Regions from separate parts of the Homo sapiens genome. Here region 2 is linked to region 1. Evidence: promoter capture Hi-C in 16 types of primary human blood cells and fetal thymus (Javierre and others, 2016). All regions are on one chromosome and are shown on one strand. The core of a region is centred on a gene start or on the middle of the fragment in contact, and the rest is flanking DNA. Distances in the headings are between cores, read along the strand shown.

The links. Contacts are between HindIII fragments. The CHiCAGO score rates a contact against its expected background, and 5 or more counts as called.
Region 2: a contact is called between the fragment with the promoter of LCE1A here and the fragment with the promoter of LCE2C in region 1, in 7 of 17 cell types (neutrophils, naive CD8 T cells, total CD4 T cells and 4 more). The highest score is 11.7, in neutrophils.

What each region holds. Positions count from the first base shown.
Region 1 is chr1:152,670,192-152,678,102 of GRCh38, forward strand. LCE2C (late cornified envelope 2C) reads left to right here and starts at 5,088. Exons shown (of 2, transcript NM_178429.5): 1 at 5,088-5,137; 2 at 5,804-6,378. The coding sequence starts at 5,825. The coding sequence ends at 6,157. The HindIII fragment of the contact is 8,836 bases long and covers 3,227-7,911 here.
Region 2 is chr1:152,822,924-152,830,834 of GRCh38, forward strand. LCE1A (late cornified envelope 1A) reads left to right here and starts at 4,550. Exons shown (of 1, transcript NM_178348.2): 1 at 4,550-5,174. The coding sequence starts at 4,550. The coding sequence ends at 4,882. The HindIII fragment of the contact is 5,440 bases long and covers 1-5,258 here.

The DNA.
Region 1 (7,911 bases), core at 3,838-6,337:
GGCTTCAGCTGATAGGATGAGGCTCACGTTAGGAAAGATAATCAACCTAGTCAGTCTACTGATTACATGCATACAAAGCAACATCTGGACTGGTGTTTGATCAACAACTGGATATCATAGGATAGCCTAGGCAAAATTAACCATCACAGAGACTGAGAGGATACATGGAGGTCATTAGAGATATGATCCAACAGACAGAAGAGGTCTTCTGTTGACAGAAGAGGGTCAGCAGTGACCAGGACACACTAAGAACATGCCATGATGGTTTTATTTTCACTTAGGATAAAGGCAAATTTCTGGACAGACCTTTGGAGAATATTGGGAAAACAGAACCTTCTACCTGGTAACCCCATGAGTCTCAACAAGGCTGTGATGTTAGGAGGACTGGAGGGAGGGAGTGCAGCATGTGGCTGGGGAGGCCCTTGGCCTTTGCACTTTGGTTCCACAGAGGTGTAGTCAGTACAGCACAGACAAGGCTGCTGACCACTGCACGGTAGCTGGAACTCTGGGAGCTGATGAAGCTGTAGCTGCTTCCCATGCGGGGTCAGTCACACAAGAAGAACTGGAGGTGAACATGGGCTGTGCACTGGAGTGGCACTGTGAAGGGCTCTTTAAAGGCATTGGCATTACTGGTGGTGTTTTGGCAAGGTATCTGAGTTTGAAAATGAATCGAGCAATAAGTCAGATAAATTAGAGCCAATATGGGCATAATTTTGCCCTTTTAAACCTATTCATGGTGTGCTGGCAGACAGTTTATAAAATACATTAGTATCTAATAGTACCTATGAAGAACCATATAACCCCAAGTTAAAAGTGTTAGAAGTGACATTTCTGAAAACAGAACTAATGCTAAATCAATGTCAATTTCTGTCTCTCATCATTTCATTTCATATCTACAGACCCATTTACTACCTACTATATTTCATGAGCGTAAAGAGGCTATCAGTTGTAAGGGGCACCCTTATTTCATGCACCACAAGGAAATAAAAATTTTGCAAATTCAACTATTACATGCCACCATTCATATGGTATACACTGATTTAAGGGCTGTTAAAAAATGTAAGAAGAGTGTATCATGGAATTGATGAATTAAGTATAAAATCCATCCTCTTCAGGTCATATAAACATGTATGTACAAACTAGACAGGCCAATTCTTGCTTTGCCCAGGACACCCCTCTGCTGTGCTCCTCCCTATCACTGGGCCGTCTTCTCCTTTCATATTCCATACTCCCGGTGTTGCTCTTAAGACTCCCATATGGTTCTGCTGAGAGCCAGTTTGATGGCTCCCCCTGGCAAACTCACCCTGGTAACCAGGCAAGGAAAATGGCATGTCCCAGATGAGGCAAAACAGATGCGGGGCAGTGTTGGGACATCTCTTATAAGCTATGCTAATACCAAGATCTGAAGTGAGTCCCAGCTCTAGCAGGACCACGACACGTGAATTCTCCAGCAGCTCTCTGCCTGGAATTCATGCCCCTCTGATGTCCATCAGCCAATATGACTTCAGCAAGAACCCATTCTGGACCTGGGTTTTGAAGCCCCAGTTTCTGAGAAACCATCTCTTGTTAGGAAATTGGGGGTTAAACTTATCCAAAACTTAAAATTAAGCAAAAAAGTGATTTCTGATTAGTCTTTTAAATTTTTACTTCTTCCTAGTAACTAACAACCTTGCCTAAGGTGTATATGACTCTCTAGGTTTTTAAAAAAAATGGTGGCATGATTTTACTTAATGTATTTGGTATTGATCAAGGCCCAGACACTGTAAAGCTAGATTTAAATTATAGAAGATTTGTAAGTTGAAAATTATTTTGTGTGCTCTAGAAAATTTAACCTAATGGTTTCATTGCCTTTGAAAACTTTAACCAGTTTTGTATCTAAATTTGCAATCTTGTTCCAGAATTTTTTTGGTCTCTCCTATTCTTTGAACCAGCATTACCATCATGCTGATTCTCTTATTAACAAGTGAAACAAATCTTTATAATATGCCTGCTATATATTTATATGAGTCATGCTTTTAACTTTTTGGAAATTACAATTCAATAAACCCTTATCTCCACACATACCCTTTCAGGAGTGGAAACTGGGCCAAAATCAGACAGTGCCAGACAGTGTTGACAAGAAGATGAAAAGGACTACAAAGATATAGTAAACGGAAAATTTGGATTAGTGAATCTACTAAATAAGATGAGATACATCAAGGGACATGGTAAGGCTTTTTCTTGTACTGTGGCTAAAATAAAGTTCCAGCATTTGGTGGGGGATAATTTTCTGGAATATACGGAGTTTAAGTTCCCAGGGAGACAATTCAAGGAGCTACTTGGAAATATCAGCTTTCAGGAGACTGACTTTCCAGATGAGGTGAACTTCAGATGAAATGTCTGGAATCAATCCCAGGCCATTCTTTTCATGTCACCTGTGTACTTGTTCATGTGGTCCTGCAATCATGCATTGATTCTGCCAACACTCATGAGACAATTAAGTGTTTGGCTGGTCCCTGAGGGAACATGCACAATGTGACATGGGGTCTTCTGGCTCAGAGGGATCACCTATGATGATGTGAGGGCTGTGGAGACAGAAGCAAGAATACTTGCAGGCAGGTGTTTCTTCACTGACTTGTGAACTAATTATCAACATTTTCTGAGATATAAAGGGACAAAGGGGACATGTTAAACAGCTGCTTATCTCCCAGTTCTGGTTTCCCAGGGGATCGGGTCCCATTAATTCTTCCATCGCTTATTCAACCACTCAATACAGACGCTCATGTATGTGCATGTTCATTTTACCTGAATTTTTGTATAAATACAACATACACACATACAGAGCACACACCCACATACACACACACACAGACACAGACTTGCCTCCCCTACTTCCTCACTTACCACATTGTTACAAATATCTTTGTCAAAGAGTATGAGGAAGCTGAGGGTGATATCACCATGAAGACAGTGGAATGAACTAACATGTTCTAATCACACTGGGAAATAGTGACTCAGGAGGTTCAGGCCCCAAACGTCATCTTCTTTGGACCTATGTTTGTCTGCAGTCATCTTCAAAAAGGCTACAAAAATTCTACAGTCCTTGAGGTCATGGGCTACTTATTATTCACCTCTATATCCCTATATTTGGACATACATGATTCAAGAACGTTGTAGGCTTTCAAAGAATGCCTTTTGAATTCACTGCTCTGACCACACTGTTGACTTACTTTATCCTTCAGGTAAAAGCTTCCTGAGAGCAGGAATCAGATCTGATAATAGGATTGCATAACTAGGAGAACAGAATCCCTCAGTTAGAAGCTGACAATGGGAAACTATGCTTTCTCCGCATCCTCCCCTCCCCCACTAAGTAGGCATTAGGCAATGTGAAGGCACAGTCTGTTTCTGTTTTAATCAGAGGTGTGAATATCTATTTTTTTCAATTCTAATTTTTAACACCTTTATTGAGATGTAATTAACATATTTGTAGTTCATTTGTTTAAAGTGTAAATTCAATGGTTTTCAGTATATTCACAGAGTTGGACAATCACCACCATAATTTTAGAACATTTTCATTACTTCACAAAGAAAACCTGTATCCATTGGCAGTAACTTCTCAATATCTCCCAGCCCGCTAAAGCACCTGGAAGCCACTGATATTTCTCAGAGGACAGGCATAAACATAAAAGGAGATACAGGGAACAGAATCTCATCCAGGCTCTTGTTCCTCGGATGCCCTGAGTCAGCTCTTCAGGGGTCCAGCCTGGGAGAGGCTGTAACTGGCTAAAGCCTCATCCCCTTTCTATTTCCAGAGATTTGCCTACTCTACACATTTCATATAAATAACATCATACAATATGCAGTCTTTTGTGACTGGCTTCTTTCACGTAGTGTAATGTTTTCAAGGTTCACACTCAATGTATCTGTTTAAACTAAATGAATAAATGACTGGGTAACTCTGTCTAGTGCAACCCTGAATCAGAACTCTGAATAACTAGATTCCTGGCTGACCCTCTACTTCCTGGTAGGAAAGGAGTTCCCTCTGCATAGGAGCCCCAAGAAATGATGTCTACTTCCCAAGACAGGTTTCAAATAATCTAAGTGTCTGGTGGAGTTAAGCTCTCTGAGGGTAAGGGCTCTATATGGGCAATTAATGACACATAAGACCGGGGCAAGTATCCAATACATGGCATTAGTTTTTCTATTAAACATATATTTATTAAGGGTCTATCAGGCACAAAATGTCATACTTAGCTCTTTCTTGCTTCTCACTTTATATTACAAACAGCTCAGTGAGATAGGTATATCTCACTGATAGGTTTATAATGGGCATTATATGTGAGAACTGATACTCACAGTGAGTATCATAGTAATACTCTAGCAATTATTGATAATTGTTACAGCAACTTTCAGAGATTACCCAGTTATCATATGCAAGTTTTCTGATTCCAGTAGCACATTCAATACAAGTCCTCTGACTGAAGGAAATGTTTAGATTTTAGAGGGAATTGTTTATTCTCAATCATTCTCCTTGCTTTAGGTGACAGAATCAACTCAGATTTAATCCACCGAATCTGCTTGCCATGGTGAGTCGGAGGAAAAGCAGAAACACAGAGGCCAGGAGGAAGGGCTGAGAGCCTAGGCAAGGGAGGGATGCCTAGAAAAAGCCAAGGCTGTAGAAGCCCTCTGGGATGGCTGGATCCACAGCAGGACATGGAAGAGAAACTGCTCAGGGTGGAGGGAGTCATAATGGAACATTTCCACAAGGTCAGGGAAAGCTGTGGCTCAGAACTGATGTTTCCTCAGAGGACATGCATTAAAAAAATGCAGGGAACAGAATCTTGTCCAGGTGTGGGTCCCTTGGGTACCCTAAGTTAACTCTTTAGGGTTCCCACCTGGTGGAGGCTCTGACTGGCTACAGCCTCTCTAGACTGCAGCCCCAGAGAGGAGTCCTGGAAGCTCCTGAGGCCTCTTTGGATTGCAGGGACTAAGAGGCAGGAGAATGTCAGGAATGACCCAGCGTGTGCCTGGTTGTGCAAGAGCCACCTCCTGCTCTTTCCAGAGCCAAGCCTGGGCCCTATAAAAGACACATCCAGCTTCAGCATCTCATCTGCTCTGACTCCCCAGGGACGTGTCTGTGCTCCTGCGTGTGACCAGGGTGAGTGGCAACCTGGGATACCAGAGGGGTATGAGCAAGGCAGAGGGATGGGGAGGATGGAGGTAGGCTGGAGAAAGAGTTGTGTGCTTGTGTTCTGCCATACTGAGCAGGAATGGGACTCAGCCTGCCTCGAATCTGTTGAGGCTCTGAGGCCTACCGGAGCTCATATAGGTGGGGAAAGCTAACTGTGCACATCTTTTCCAATTCTGTGTTCAGTGACTTCATGTTGGTAACTTCAAAACTGCTGTGTTGGGCATATTTACACCATGGAAACTGGCAAATACTTCAAGCCAGGCTCTTTTATCTGGAGGTTTCATTGCAAAATATTTTCCAGAGGACCCCTTGGTATGTCCTGCAACACCCAGCTTGTCCTTAGGGCTTGTATTAAAGGAATAGGTACTTCAGGGAGCTGTGAATACTCTATTCGGGCTTGTGAGGATAGAGCAATCGCAGTTTCCCCTGAAAGGAAGAGTAAGAAGCTCATTCTGTTGATTTTTTATCTACGTACTTTTATCTAGAGGAAAGATTCAAGTTGTTTCTTTCAGGTTACTGATGTGATTGTATTATCTAAATATCATTCTTCTTCTACACATGCATTGATTTTAGAAGAGGTATAATATGATCCTTGGTTTGAAATATTTAAAGAGTTTCATTATTATCTTTCAGGTTGACTAAACTCCTGCCAGCATGTCTTGCCAGCAAAACCAGCAGCAGTGCCAGCCCCCTCCCAAGTGTCCTCCCAAGTGTACCCCAAAATGTCCACCTAAGTGTCCCCCCAAATGCCCACCACAGTGCCCAGCTCCATGTTTCCCTGCAGTCTCTTCTTGCTGTGGTCCCAGCTCTGGGAGCTGCTGTGGTCCCAGCTCTGGGGGCTGCTGCAGCTCTGGGGCTGGTGGCTGCTCCCTGAGCCACCACAGGCCCCGTCTCTTCCACCGGCGCCGGCACCAGAGCCCCGACTGCTGTGAGAGTGAACCTTCTGGGGGCTCTGGCTGCTGCCACAGCTCTGGGGGCTGCTGCTGACCTGGGCTACAGAAGAGCTCTTGGGACTGAATGGCCAAGAACCTGCTACGGCCTGATGGATACTCTTTCCACTTCCTCTCATTCCATTCATTGGTTGGCAGAGACCACAAAGACTCATGGGGCTTTCCTGGAAGAACTTCGTGCTTGATGTAACACCCCAATTGCAAGTCTTCTTTTCCTCCTTTACCTCATGTTATAATAAAGCTCTGATCTCTGACTCACTAAATGTCTTGGTCATTCTCTTCTCTTCTGAGATTTCAAATGTCCTCCAAAGGTCAGGGCCTCAGAGTAATTTTCTTCATGAGGCTAGGACAGGACATGAGTAGGTGATACATGAAAAGCTGCTCTGAGGAACTGATTCCCCCAGATGCTGAGTGAATGGAGCTCCAAGAGGGTCACCTCTGGCTATGGTAGCTTTGCCTTTCTCTCCACTAAGCCAGACACATGTTCTAATTTTCTGTGTAATCCAGACGTTGGGAAGGTTGGGAAGCTCTGCAGACTTGTTCTTCTCTAGGGAGAAGAACACATCCCTATGAAGCAAAACTTTCCTGCCCTTAGAATCAATAGTTGGATAAAATGCTTGAAACAGATGTTGAGACCCTTCCTCCTGTAAAGTACAGCCCATGGTCACTCAGCTTCTTTTCATGAGTCTGGTTAAGATCAGCCTTTTGACTTGCTGCCTTGGACACCTGGCTTCAGTTCCTCACAGTGTTAGATCTGAGTCCCAGGATGCTGTCCTGCCACTTGGCTCACGTGCTGGGCAGGGGAGTGATGAGTGATGGAGATATTAAGTGAAAAAACATGGAAGTGTTGCTTAGAAGATACAAAGAATATAAGGAACATAAGAATACAAAGAATACAAAACGCTGTATGAAAGAATAGACCTTTCCTCCTTCAATACTTATCTTTTTTGCCAAGCCACCCTCAGAATGTGAGGGGGGAGAAGCGCCAGGATGGGTGGGGCATCTTAAGTATTACTAGAGGAAGGGGAGGGAAGCAGGGACACAGCAGGGGAAACAAGGGCTAGTGCTTCTTAGGTTCAGGCTGACAGGTGTCGACATGAAGATAATGGATTCAGCAAAGACGGATTTTGACAGAGATGGAGCCTCTTATTAATATGTTTACCTTCTTACTTACCCTTAGTGCCACTAAGACAAAAACCCAGCTGATTAACCAGTTTGAGATTCTGTACTGTCTGCATTTTAAATCACCCTCTGCACTGAGTCAGTTTATTTGACTCAATGCTCTTTATTATTTTGCCAGTCTCATTATTAACTAATTTTCAAGTCCCTGACCAGTAGTAATTTTGAGCTTCCATAAATATGTACATTGGCTATTTCTACAAAATTTGTAATAGGATTTTAAATTTTCTTTTCAATTTTCAAGAGCTCTTGATATATCATGGATATTAACCTTGATCTGTCTTTATTAAAATATTTAATACATCATAATTAATTGACTCTGTTTATAATAACTTTTGCTATGGAAATATTTGTAGTTTTTAAATACTCAAATATGACTTTCTTTGCTTTCATAGCTTCAGGGTTTCCTGAGTTGGTTAAGAAGTTTTTCCTTGTCCTTAGTGTTTACATGTCAGCAAACAAAACAAATAAAAAAACCCAAACAGTATAAAATGGAACACCAAGCGGGGGACCTAAGGTTGCCTGGGGCAGGTGAAGGCTGGCCTGCGGAGGGGTGGACACCCGAGTATGCTTTCAGGGACCTCTGCCTTAAGTAAGAGCAACTCACCGGCC
Region 2 (7,911 bases), core at 3,300-5,799, 150 kb after region 1:
GTATTTTCATCTTTTGTGATGTTTTCTGGTTAAAGAAAATTTAATATAACCAAACTCAAGGGTTTTTGTTTGTTTGTAATGTGTTTGTCTCTGATGTGAACACATGTATATTATTTAGGAAATCTTTTCCATCAAAAGTCCATAAGGTTATTCTATTAAATCATTTTTGAAAATTTTAAATATATTTCTAAAGTTTTGTTTACTACATTAGATCTTTGATTTATGGAATTTATTTTAATTATATGGTGTGAAGTAGAGGCATTTATTTATTGCCCAAATGAATAAACAGTTGGTATGGTATCATTTACTGAACTGATTACTCCTAACCCACTTTTCTGTAATCCTGCCTCTGACACATTTCAGGGGTTCATACATGAATGAATGACTTTTAGTTCTTATAACCTGTCACATTGTTCCTTAATCAATAAATCACAGTCTGAACGACAATTGCTTTATAATTATTCTTGGTGTTTTGTGAGATAAGTTCCCATGTATTCTTCTTCATGGTTATCCTGTCTATTCTGGGCCTCTTGCTGTTTGATTTGAGTCGTAGAATCAGCTCATTAAGTTCTGTTGAACTCTCTCTTGTGGTTTTCATTAGAATTACATGGAATCCACAGGTTGACTTGCAGAAAATTGACGTTTTTAAGACAATGTTTCTTTCTATTATGGTCTACTTTAATGCGTTTCAATAAAATGTTGTAATTTTTCCATTTATTCGTCTTTTAGAGATATTTATTCTTAGATGTCTCATATTTTTGTTACTGATATCTATGGTTTTATTTTTAAATAACAATTTCTGATTATTGGTGTATATGTGTTCTATAACATAACAGCTTCAGTCAAGAAATAGCTTTTTATGCCTAAATGTAGAACCACAAAATAATTTTAATTATTGTCACATGTGCCTTTATATGCCTCTTTCACAATTTAATACCCTAAGTATTAAAATAAGTACTTAGTAGTAAGCGTTTCCAATTTACCTTATTACAATACCATAGTTAACACTTTTGAGTATTTAGATTTTCACATTTTTATAACAATCTCCATAAAACGAAAGCCTGAAAATTGGAATCTCTAGGTCAAAATATATGTACATTCTACATTTTTAATTATTTGAACTCACCAGTAAATAATATCTGAATGAATCAATAACCAGTTTGCCTTTCAGAAAGGTATTCCATCCACAGTAACTTTTCCCTCCCATATCCACCCTTCGTTTGTAAAATTTTTAAATCTTTGCCTATTTAATATGAATGCATAAATTCCATAGAGAAAAATAAAAGACAATTATTTTTATACATGTATTTTTCACTATAAATCTAACATTTTGCGTTGCCTGCTTATCTCTTTTGTCCATTATTTTCATGGAATTTTTTTCTTATTACTTTGTAAAGTATATTTGCATGTCAACAGTGTTAATCTTATTCCTGAGATATGTGATGTAATTTCCTCTCAATTGGTCACTTCTCTTTCAGGAGTGTTTACATGTTGCTCTTTTCCACATGAAGTTTTTATTCAGAAATAAATAAACATCACGTTTTCCTTTTGTAACATGGTTTTGGGAGCCACCAGGCATAAGAAATAATGAACTATCCTTTTCTACTTTAAGAGTGTTATTTAATAATGTATGTTATAAAAAAGGATCTAATGGGTGAAAAAAATAACCCATTAACATACTAGGTGCTGATTCCAAAGCATAAAGTACGATACCACTCAGTATGAAGTTCGAGTGATTCTTTAAAAATTGAACATTTCCAAAAATGTGTTAATTAATAACCAGTTTACAGATGGACATAGAAACAATTAGAAAAAAAGTATTGCAGTCATTCCTATAAATTTACAATGTGGGACATAATGCTTTACTTTTGATTTGCCTCATAGCTGCATTCTAGATCTCAGCCATGTCAGCTTCCAAGCCTTGATAACAGAAGATCTAAAAAGCCAGTCACTTGCTTAATAAAAATTTTATGAAATTTAAGTCACTGACATCATACAATTAAGGCAAGCAGACCAACCTTTATGAGGTTTCAAACCTGCTGCCAACTTACCATCCAGATCTAAATCAGACTGATTGACATATTGAGTACCACATCACTAGAGGCATGGATCATGTGATCCCTCAGGCCAAGTATCCTAAGAATCAGTGAGTCTGCTTCTGAGTAAGACTTACCTATGAGCCAAGGTATTGATATCCTGACCACTCCCTTATAACAAAGCCTTTTGTAACAACCTGAGCAGGAAAAGAAGAGTCACACTCAGGCAACATAGGTACAGATCTCTGCAGGATGACATATCCTCAGCATGTATGTCTGCATGCTCCAGGTTCTTATGCTGATAGCCTAAGTCATGTGGAATAACTATTCATAAACTCTATAGTGCTATGCAAATGCTGGCTTCATGCCTGACCAAAAAATAAATGTGTGTGTATATACATATATATGTACATACATATATGTGTATATACATATATATGTACATACATATATGTGTATGTCCCAGCTACTTGGGAGGCTGAGGCAGAAGAATGGCGTGGACCTGGGAGGCAGAGCTCGCAGTGAGCCGAGATCATGCCACTGCACTCCAGCCAGGGCAACAGAGCGAGACTCTGTCTCAAAAAAAAAAAAAAAGAAAGAAAAAAAAAAAGAAACATGCACACAGGCACACACACACAGGCACCCACACACGTAAACAACTCCCAGTGGCTAAGTGGTGGGACACATGTGAAAAAGCTAAGAGGCTTCTGTGTTTCTTTGTTCAAACCTGGATGCCTGGAGCTCATAAATTCACATTGCTAGAGGAAGAAGGAGAACATTTGGGGGACCACATTTCAAGAGCGAGAACTGAGAGGTAGGCACCTCTAAGAGAATAAGGTACCAGGTGGTGGTAGGAATTCACTCCCACCCCATTTCTAAGTCATATTCCACACTAGGAACAGCTCCCCTGAGCCCCGTGGAGAAAGGCAGATGTGGAGCTGCCAGTCACTCCTTGTCACAGGACCCATGTGGGTGTCAGGAGACAGATCCTTTCATTCCCAGGCCCTGTCTCACAGCTGGAGGCAGAGCCCAGGCCAGGATAAAAGGGCTCGTGGCCAGAGCACCCCATCCATTCACCTCCTGAGGTGCTGAAGGACCCTGTGCTGCCTGTGACCTCGGTAAGCGTCCACTGGGAAAAGGAGCAGGGGTTCCACAGAGGGATGCCCAGACCAGGGCAGGAGGGAAGGCTGGGCAGGGCTTTGTTGGGGAGGGGTAGCTGGATTAGAAGAGGTGGAGAATGTCTAGAAATTCTGATGGAGTTCAAGCTGTGGGGCAGGAGAGATGGGAAGCACCTGGATGATTTGTATGTCTATGCTTCATGCTCTAATCCAAATTAGTTCTGTATTTTTTTTAGTGTCTCCCATTCCAGATAAGTTAAAACAAACTTTCCTTTCAGAGAGTAGATCTTAGCAACTCAACTGTGTCTCTTCCCCGAAGCCTGTACTGGGATTATAGTGGTTCTTAAATAATGGAGACCGGAGACCAGAGGAAGCATATTTGGAGCTTGATAAACACAGAGATACATGGCCCTTACACCTTCATCAGGAGTGAGTTAGTCATGAGTGGTGCCTGGGCATCTGTATATCAGAAGCTCCAGTGTTGAACAGCAAGTAACAAGTTGAAATTTATGGTTGCCAGGGTGGCAGATAGAGGAGTCTGTGGGTTCTAAGAGGGAGCTTCACTAGGCATGGATTCACCAGACCGGGAAATCTAGGGTCACGTGTCAGCTTGCTACAATTAGCTTTAGACCTCATTTCTCCATTTATAATATGATTTGGGATAGCCAGCTCATATGATGACCCTTTGCAATTCTGACTATAATATATTGTGTGTTTGTGTCAACCAAATACAGCCATCTGGGAAGCTCCTACAAAAGGGAATCTTTATTTTTATTTTATTATTTTATTTCATTTATTTTTGAGACAAAGTGTCATTCTATTGCCCAGACTGCAGTGCAGTGGCATGACCTTGGCTCCCTGCAGCATTGGCCTCCTGGGCTCAAACGATCCTCCAGCCTCAGCCTCCTAAGTAGTTGGGACTACAGGTGCGTGCCACCATACCCAGCTAATTTTTTTTTAGAGATAGGGTCTTCTTGCTTATTTTTTAAAAAGCAGAACTGCAGGTTTAAACTGGCTCCTAGATTGGACATTTTCAGAATTCTAAGTGGTGCAGAAGGGTAGACTTCAGTCAGATTCTGTGAATGTCAGATTGCCTTTTCCACTTAAAGGACATTAATTTTGGGCAAGTTTGTTAATACAGATGTCCTCATTATATTGCTGGGTTAAAATAAGATAGTCTATTTCTATTTTATAAAAACATCCTGATGATCCTATAACACATTGTGAAAGCATCTGACAAACAATTTTAGAGATAATTTCTCTCTGACTTATTTGAACAGGTTTTAAAAATGTAGCAAAAATAAATGATGGTAAAAAGGCAATAAGGGTGGCCTCTGTGCCTGGCTGTAACTTGCTGTTTGACTCTCCTTCAGCTCCTGAACACCCACCGCCGAGATGTCCTGCCAGCAGAGCCAGCAGCAGTGCCAGCCCCCTCCCAAGTGCACCCCCAAGTGCCCTCCCAAGTGCCCCACTCCTAAGTGCCCCCCAAAGTGTCCCCCTAAGTGCCCTCCAGTCTCTTCCTGCTGCAGTGTCAGCTCCGGAGGCTGCTGTGGCTCCAGCTCTGGGGGCGGCTGCAGCTCTGGGGGAGGTGGCTGCTGCCTGAGCCACCACAGGCGCCACAGGTCCCACCGTCACAGACTCCAGAGCTCTGGCTGCTGCAGCCAGCCCTCGGGAGGCTCCAGCTGCTGTGGAGGGGACAGCGGCCAGCACTCTGGAGGCTGCTGCTGAAGCGGACTCTGCACCTAGAAGAGCAGACTCGGGTGAAATGAGTGATCAAACATTTCCTCCTCACCTGTCTCCTCCTGGGCCTGCAAGAGTGGCTGAGATGCCCGCGTGAAGGCTCTGAGCTCTGGCCTAGAGGATCCCTCTGCCCTGGGATCCAGAAACTTGATTCTTCTCCCACAAACCTATCTGCTGCCCCTGACACCAACTGTGTTGTCTACTCTGGGATCCCAAGCCACAAACTCACTCTCCAGCTCATTTCCTGCAGCCTCAAGTGAAACAATAAAGCAAAAGATCTTCTTGCCACTTATTGTGGACTGTTCCTTGCCTGTTTGTGTCTCCAATATTTTTTTCACTGCTCTCTACTTTCCTGCTGCCTGGAAGCTTTGGAAATCAAGATGTGCTAGTCGCATGGCTAAAGATATGGAGGAGGGGAGAGAAAAACTTCTATGGCTCCTACTTTGACACCTTATGTCAGAGGAATCACTACGTGGCTCTGCCTGTGCCCATCTTCCTGGTGTTTCAGGAACACAGAGCCTTGTGCTTTGGACTTCTTCAGGGTCCTACTTGGTCTCCAGGGTGTGGCAGGGAGACAGATATGCACCCCATCCTTTCATCCATCTACCCCTCCTCCCCTTTACAATACTGCCCACTCACTCCCAAATTTCATTCTCTTTCAGTAAAAAATATTAGAAAATTATATGTAAACTTCCTGCAAACAGACCATGAATCTTAGACTATTCTAACTACAAGTATGCATAGAACATGTGGTAAATATGATCTGAAAAAACTTAAAAATCCGTAGAAAAGGAATCAGTATGTTAAAAATCAATGTCTTTCTTTTCTCTCCCAGAGTCCCAAGTCCAATCTTTCCAGTCAAATATTTCGTCTCTATATTTTGTGAAGAAGTCCTGATTTTTCATCAATATTTTTTCAATTACAAATTTTACATGAGATTGAATAATTGTTAATTTAATGTTGTGTGTATTATGCCTCAATAATTTTACTATGAACTGGATAAGTGGGCAATACCCTGCACTTATTTTTTAATCCATGAAAACCCCCTGGTGTCTGGCAGATCAGACAGCAAGAACATGTAGGAATAATGTGATGTCCACCTCACAAATGCTCTGATTAATACAACCTCTAGATGTCCCTGTGTCTTTGGTCAGTCACCCAAGGGACATCCAGTACACTGATTCTCAGCCATATACCTGCTTCTTGACTATTCCAGGAGACTAGATGAGGGATATATTCCTTTTGGCTTCAGTAACAAGAAGGAGCTCAAGCACTGCACATATTGGGTGACCCCTCCAAATAATTCAACTAGCATATTAATAAGTATGGAGCTGACTGGTGGCCAAAGTGACAGATGATACCATTCCCCAGAAAGGAAATAATGTTCCAGCTGGGATCAGACACACGCTAAGGTCCAGGTTTCTCTCTCCCCAACTTGGACTGCGTGCTCCCTAAGGGCAGCTGCTATATAGCCATCTCAGACCAGAGTTCCATGAAAGCCAAGACTGTGTTTTCCCATAAGGTCATAAAGATTTTCTTGTATATTTTCTTCTACAACTTTTATTGTTTTAGGCCCTCAGTTCGGTTTTTGATCCATTTTGAGTTAAATGTTTTTAATGTTATAAGATAAGGGTCAATTTTATTATTTTGCTTGTGGTTTTCCAGTAGCCATAGCATTATTTGTTGAAAGACTATTGTTTCCTCAGTGAAACAGTCAAATTTTTGGCACCCTTGTCAAAAAATCGTTAACCATCAATTTATGGTTTATTTTTGACACTCAATTCTCTTCCACTGTTCTTTGTGTGTAGCTTTAGTTGACAGTTTTGTTTTGATTCTTGTTTTTTGTTTTTCTTCTCAGCATTTTGAAAATGCCATTCCAATGCCTCTGGCTTTCATTGATTAAAAATAAGCTATAAATATTATTGGGGTTTCCTTGTAAGTGATGAGTCATTTTTCTTTCACTGTTTTCAGGAGTCACTCTTCACCTTTTTTCCCCAATACTTTTACAGTGATGTCTCTAGATGTGAGTCTTTTTGTGTATCTCATACTTGGAGTTTGTTGATCTTGTTAAATGAATAGATTGTTTTTCATCAAATTTAGTAAATTTTACATCATTATTTTTGAATTTTTTTCTGTTTTCTGTTCCTTTTCTCTATCCACTCCTTCTTGTACTCCTATTACACATATGTTGGTGTGCATATATCCCAAAATTTTCTGAGGTTCTGCCTACTTTTCTTCATTACTTTTTTCTCAGTGTTATTTAAATTGCTTAATTGCTATTGATCTAATTTGCTGATTCTCTCTTCTGACAGTTCAATATATTGTTGAATTTTTCATTTCAATTATTTTACTTTTCAACTCTAGAATTTCAAGTTAATTCTTTAAAAAAATTCTACCTGTTTATTGACATTATTTATTTTATAAACATTACCATACCTTCCTTTACTTCTTTAAAAATAGTTTCCTGACAGCTCCCAGCATAAGCAATGCAGAAGACAGGTGATTTCTGCATTTCCAACTGAGGTACTGGGTACATCTCAAGGGGGAGTGCAGGACAGTGGGTGCAGTACAGTGGATGCAGTGAACCATGCGTGAGCCGAAGCAGGGCGAGGCATCGCCTCACCCAGGAAGTGCAAGGGGTCAGGGAATTCCCTTTCCTAGTCAAAGAAAGGGGTGACAGACGGCACCTGGAAAATCGGGTCACTCCCACCCTAATACTGCGCTCTTCCAACGGGCTTAACAAACGGCACACCAGGAGATTACATCCTGCACCTGGCTCAGAGGGTCCTAGGCCATGGAGCCTCGCTCATTGCTAGCACAGCAGTCTGAGTTCAAACTGCAAGGCAGCAGCGAGGCTAGGGGAGGGGCGCCCACCATTGCTCAGGCTTGAGTAGGTAAACAAAGTGGCCCCGAAGCTCAAACTGGGTGGAGCCCACCACAGCTCAAGGAGGCCTGCCTGCCTCTGTAGGCTCCACCTCTGGGAGCAGGGCACAGACAAACAAAAGACAGCAATAACC